Regions from separate parts of the Homo sapiens genome. Here region 1 is linked to region 2. The links are contacts of gene promoters, found by promoter capture Hi-C in blood cells and fetal thymus (Javierre and others, 2016). All regions are on one chromosome and are shown on one strand. The core of a region is centred on a gene start or on the middle of the fragment in contact, and the rest is flanking DNA. Distances in the headings are between cores, read along the strand shown.

Region 1 (3,076 bases), core at 285-2,784, 2.0 Mb before region 2:
AAATGACAAAACAAGCAACAGTGAAACACAGTCCTACGTGAATAGTAGAAGTGTCACCATGCAAAGATGAGATTGAACAGTAAACTTGAATAGTAATACAAAAAGGGTTGGTTGGGATGGAGAAAGAGTTAAAGTGGGATTTCAGGGTGGAATTGAGCTCCCACTTTCATCAGATGTTTCAATATCTCATTAAAGAAAGTTACATGATATTTGCTGAGTATTGTATGAATTTACATACATTTATAGTGGGTTTATAAAGAGGAGATGCTTTGACACAACCAGAGTGTATGTAAAACTTTCATGTGATATGTTTTAGTTAACAGTTTCTTTGCTGACCCTGCTAGACACTACAAGAAAACACATTTTCAGAAACATGTCATTGAACAATGCTGGTTTAATGAAGTCATCCAGCTGAAGTTTACACAAGTTGTAAGTCTCGCAGTGAGGTGACACTTCAAGGAAATGTACCTGTAGCTATAAGCCATGTAACTATTTGATGTGGTGTTTTTGTATAGTGAGAGAATCCAAATTCTAGCATGAGCTTGTAAAATAATGACCATCTCTTAATCTTTTCCTGTCTTACACAACTTCAAACCTTGTGTTACATACACACTCTGGACCTTCTCTTTTATTGCCCAGGAAATTTTCTATATTTATTAACTATCTTTGGAATAATTTCTACCTCTTCAACTACCCCAAACTCTTAACTTTCTTTTAAGAGCACATACTTATAACCTTTAAGTGGCAGTTTTTCATTCTTCCAGGAGCATTCTCCAGGACCAATAGTAAGCTCACTGGGATGCAACACTTATACTGGCTCATCCTCCTGAGGCCACTTCCCTGAGTTCACTTTCTTGGAAGCCATTCCCAAATTATACCACCCTCATTGCCTGTCACTGTCACCAATGATGTTCAAGTCACATCCACAAAATCAATGAAGGTTGTGATAACTTTCTTGCTACCCATTCTTATTTGTGTCACAATCCCAAGAGAATTTAATATTCATAATTATGTTCTTTTAGTAACTCTGGGCTTTGAGTGTGATTCCAGCTGGATTTCCTATTTACTACTACTTTGGTGTTCCCAGATTAGGTATACACCTCCTCTTGAAGTATTTCTAAGTCTTCTCTTCAGCTCAGCTCATAAACTGCATGCACAGTAATATACCTAACACCTATGATCCTACTATTACCCCCAAATGTCCTATGGATCTCCATCATATATTAGAACACATTAGTGATACCACTTAGCAAGAAACCAAAGGCCCTTCACAATTTTGTTTTGACCTTTCGTATCAACTTCCCTGAAAACACCTTTTCCTCTAGAAATAAGATTGTTCACTTTATGTTCTCTGAGTAAACTGTGAACTTTCATGCCTCCATGGCTTAGCACATTTTGTATTTTTCCATCAGATCTAAGCTTTCCTTCATTTTTCTCTCTTCGTCTATTCCGGTTCTTCTGGACTGGGCTTCAGTGCCCCACATTTAACCTTTCTCAGATCTCCACTTCTAACCTAACCACGCTTGTGCTTCATTGTGACTTCACAGAACATGGCTTATGTCTCTCTCTTCCCCTTATTATGGTGAATTCATAAATAAAATAAGCATGCAATACTGACTTAGTGAAAACCTTCCTTGGCCCAAGCTTCCACATTTATGAAATAAGAGAATTAGAATAGTTAATACCTAATTCCTTTTAGCTCATTTTTTTTTTTTTTTTTTACTATTTCAACAAAACAGACTATTGAACTTTTATCATTTTGCGTTTACCAACTACTTCCTCTAAATAGTTTCTATGGCACTTGTATTGAAATGCCTGACCAGCTTCCTTTATCTAGTTTCTGTTTGTTGAGAGTTTGTTGTATACAAAGCACAGTATGAGGGGTATGTGTGTGTGTATGTGTGCATAAAGTCATGGGCCATAACTTCAAATGATAAATATGATTAAAAATCAGTTCAATGTAATTCTCTGGGCCATCTCATTTACATGGACTCACTGGCTTTACAGACACTGCCTATTCTTTCTGTAAAACATACTCTGGAGTCCTACAGTGGAATGAAACTCCTACCAATTGAGTTGTATATTTCTCAAGAGTCAATTGTGTTCATCACCAAGTCAGCTTATACTCATTTAACCTGATACTCAAATTTCATAATTATATGTTTGATATACTGATGTATGTTCGATAAACTAATGAAAGATATATACAAAAAGAGAGTTAGTATTTCTATGGAAAATAATTTAATTTGAATGCCTGTCATGAACATACCCTAAAGTGAACCCCAGTGACTCATGCTCTTATATAATCTCTTACTTTTAAGTGCAGGTGAAAGCTATGACTTGCTTCTAACCAATGGAATTTGACAAAGGTGATGAGATACCACTTTCTTGATTAGGTTATGTTGTATAGTAAAACTGGTGGCATGTTTCTCCCACGATTGTATGATATTACCTAAGATTCTGCTCAGCATACTGAAGATAGAGCTTCTTCTGCTGACCTTGAAGATGCCATGTTTCTCCATGTGTTGGAGAGAGCCATTTGGCAGGGAACAGTGGGCAGCCTCTAGAGTGGCGTCTAGCCAACAGTGAATAGGAAGCATGGAACCTCAGTCAAAAAGCTTCAAGGAAATGGATTTGGCCAAGAACCTGAAGAAGCTTGAAAGGACTCCCCCCTAGCTGGGAATTAGATGAGAATGCTATCTGGCAGACATCTTGATTGCAGCCTTGAGAGGGTCTGAGTAGAGGCACCAGTTAAGTGCCAGGAGCCCTGCCCTATGAAAACTGTGAAGTAATAAATAATTGTTGTTTTAAGCTGCTAAATTTACAATAATTTATTATTCAGCAACATAAAACTAATACAATGCCTTAGAAAGGCTCGTTAATGTCAATTTATTAGCCACAAAAAAGAGCCAACACATAAACTTGCTGTCAAATTTAGTCAAGGCAGGACAACAATAAATGTTTGAGGGGGTACAAACTATAAATGTCTATAAAAAGTATTCCTTTAGATTCTCATACAAATGTATTTAGGAGGTTGCTCCATTTTAAAGAATCTCCATATAGAATATAGTGATGT
Region 2 (3,254 bases), core at 520-3,019:
ATTTCAATTTGCCAGGCTTCTGAAGCGAAGAGGCTGCCCTGAAAAAGCAAACATGAGAGAGGACGGGGTGCAGGTAAATATCATTAACGTGAAAATCTGCTACCCCAGCCAAGTTCACCACCAGTATTCACCCCTACAGGCGGGGCCGCTCGGACCCTGCTCCCGGCTCCGCGCCTGCCACTCCCTTTCCCGCGCAGCCGAGATGCCAGCCCCAGTGGGCCTGGCGGGGAGTCCGGCGGGGTCCGGACCGGGCGGCTCGACCCCCGGTCCCCACGGCAGGAACGACTCAGCCTCGCACCTCGGGAGCTGTAGGTGCCGAAAACGAAACCCGCGGGGGCAGCGCACGCCGCGCGAGTCTCGGTCCGGCGGCAACCCAGATAGCGATTCAGGGGCTTTATTCTTTTGATGGTGATTAAAAAAATATATTCTATTTGAACCCGTAAAGCAGACGAGGGCAAATCAAGCCATCCCCCGCGCTGGCTCACCGGCCACCGCGCCCAGCGCCTTCCTCCCCCTCCGGCGGGCGAGCGGGCAGGGGCGCCCGACTCCTACCTTCCTCCCGCCAGCCACCGGGGGACCAGCCGCGCTCTCCGGGGCGGGGGAGGCCGCCCGGGACGGGGACCCCCACCTTCCGCCTTCGGAAGCGGGTTGGGGCGGGGGTCGGACCCCGAGTCTCTACTCCCCGTCCCTCTGCCCCCCGGCGCGGCCCGACAGCTCCCAGCCCCATCCTGGCAGGTGGCTTGGGTGGCGGTAGATGCCGGGCGGGAGGAAGATGTGGGGCTGCTCTGGCAGGTTGGGGGTGCGAGGAGGAAAAAAAAACAGAGAAAGACACACACAGAGAGACAGGGAGAGAGCGCGCGCGAGAGAGCTCTTGTCTATAGATTTATCCACATAATATATATTTATGTAGCTTTTTTTCTCTCGACACTGATGAATGCGCGCTCGGATCCCCGGGCGGACTCCCTCCAAGCCGGCTCGCTTTTCTAGTCTAAATAAATAAATAAAGCCAGATGGAAGAAAAAAGCGCCCATTCCACCTCCGCCGCCGCCCCGCCCGCCATCCCTGCCTTTGCTTCGCCCGCCTGGCGCCCTAATAGAGCATAGCTTGGTGGATAAAGCCCCCCTACATACCCACACGAAAATAAAAATCACTATTTTTAAAATACAAAAAGTTGCACCTGCTGCTATTACAAAAAGAACCCCCAAAAGGCAAAGAGAGGAGGCCGGCTGCCCGGCTCCTCACGGACACCCGCTCCCCGCGGCCGCCGGGCCCGGAATCTCAGCGCCTCCCGAAGAGCCATGCGCCTGGCGCTATTTATAGCCGGGGGCCGTCTCGGACTGTACCATCGCCACGGCGCGGGGCCGCCGACGGGGGAGGCGCGGTGGCCGCCGCCCCACGCCGCCCTGCCCCCGGCCGCCGCCCGCCGTGGCGCGGGCCCCCACAGCGCGCCCATTCCCGGCCCCCCGCGCCCTCCTCCGCGCGCGCACACTCGCCACCCCCACCCCTGGTCTGGCTGGGAACTTGAACCGGTCCAGCCTGTTTAAACGGAAAGGACAGAGATCCTGTCTGTTCAATGTAAAAAAAAAAAAAAAAAAAAAAAAAAGAAAAAAAGAAAAAAAAAATCAGATCAGACCGAGAGAGAGAGGAGAGAGGGAGAGAGAGAGGGAGAGAGAGAGGGAGAGAGAGAGGAGAGGGAGGGAGGGAGAGAGAGAGGGGGGAGAGCAGAGAGAGAGCGCGAGCGCGAGCGAGCGAGAGAAGAGGAGAAAGAGAGAGAGCAGAGAGCGAGCGGAGAGCGAGGTGTAGAGAAACCGAGGGGGAGAGAACCCGAGTGTGTGTATGCGTGTGCGTGTGTGAGCGCGAGCGAGCGAGAGAGAGGAGCGAGAGAGTGTGAGCGAGAAAGAATAAAAGGAAAGAAGATTTTCTCTATGTATATAAAGATGGCCACGTTAGCAAACGGACAGGCTGACAACGCAAGCCTCAGTACCAACGGGCTCGGCAGCAGCCCGGGCAGTGCCGGGCACATGAACGGATTAAGCCACAGCCCGGGGAACCCGTCGACCATTCCCATGAAGGACCACGATGCCATCAAGCTGTTCATTGGGCAGATCCCCCGCAACCTGGATGAGAAGGACCTCAAGCCCCTCTTCGAGGAGTTTGGCAAAATCTACGAGCTTACGGTTCTGAAGGACAGGTTCACAGGCATGCACAAAGGTGAGTACACCTTTCCCTCCCAACTTTGCCGGGGAGCAGGAGCGGGCTGGCGGGCCGACCGGCCGGCCGGCGACTGACGAGCGGCGGACTAAGCGAGAGGAAGCCTCGGGCGGGCGCGGTGGAGGGAGGCGCTCGGGCAGCGGAGACCAGAGCTGGGGTGCGTGGGGAGCTGTTCGCTGGGGCAAGACTGGGTTTTGGGCGAGGTGCTGATAGGAACGATGCCATGGAGAGAGCAGCGGGCGCCGATGAAGAGAAAGAGAGAGGGGATCGAGGAGACGGGGCTTGGATTTTTGGGTACAGCGACCTGAAAGATGGGGATGGGGAAGGCTGCACCGGTCGAGCCCAGGACGCTGAGCGGACGGACTCGCGGGCTCCTGGCCGGCCGAGGACCGAGGGTGCTGTCCATCGCCGTGGTGCTGAAAATACTAAAGGAGGTGGTCTCCTCATCCTTTGCTCCGGGCTAGAGTAGCAGGAGCGCAGCCGTCTAAAAGGGAGAGAGGTGACAAATTCAAAGAGAAATTTTTATTTAAATGTAACAGTAAACTCTCCCTGTCGAGCTGTGTGCCTCAATAATCTGATTGTGGTGTGAATGGTGGTGTGTGTTGGGGGTGGGGGGGTTGGATGTTTGAAGGAACCAGTGATAAAACCTAAGGCAAGAATTAGCAAGGAACCAGCCATCCCCTGGGTGGAGTGGGGGGTCTGGCAAGCCTGGATAGTCCCCTTCCCAGGAAAGCGGGGCTTTGGGAAAAAAATATGTGTGTGCGAGATTTGCATTTTGAAAGGTGTACCCTAATTTATCCCAAACTCACCATGCAGAGAGCTTTATAGTACATTATTTCTCCCTTGAAGCGATCATTGCCAGTGAGTGCTTGGGGGAGGGGGAGACAGAATAATCAAAGAATTAAAACACAGCAACTTTTTAGGAAAGTGGTCATGGGAATTGTCCGCAGCCTGCCTGTTTTCTCCTTGTTTTATTATCTTTAAAGCAGAGCCCCAAACGTGTTCAGTTGTAGAATGTGTGTGGGTGGCTGGTGGGTGACGAA

Evidence for each region. The method cuts DNA at HindIII sites, captures the fragments that hold promoters and counts their contacts. A CHiCAGO score of 5 or more calls a contact.
Region 1: a fragment that was not itself captured here is called in contact with the fragment with the promoter of CELF4 in region 2 in 1 of 17 cell types (non-activated CD4 T cells); the score reaches 5.2 in non-activated CD4 T cells.

Annotation. Positions count from the first base shown.
Region 1 is chr18:39,550,359-39,553,434 of GRCh38, reverse strand. The region is part of intron 2 of MIR924HG (MIR924 host gene); the gene reads left to right. Among named protein-coding and RNA genes, the nearest start is that of MIR924, 70 kb to the left of the region's middle. The HindIII fragment of the contact is 225 bases long and covers 1,422-1,646 here.
Region 2 is chr18:37,564,313-37,567,566 of GRCh38, reverse strand. It overlaps CELF4 (CUGBP Elav-like family member 4), which reads left to right and starts at 1,769. Exons shown (of 13, transcript NM_020180.4): 1 at 1,769-2,211. The coding sequence starts at 1,926. LOC124904288 (a long non-coding RNA gene) reads right to left here and starts at 1,290. Exons shown (of 2, transcript XR_007066345.1): 1 at 1,178-1,290; 2 at 879-988. RefSeq lists an enhancer at 1,722-2,225. The HindIII fragment of the contact is 19,532 bases long and covers 1-3,254 here.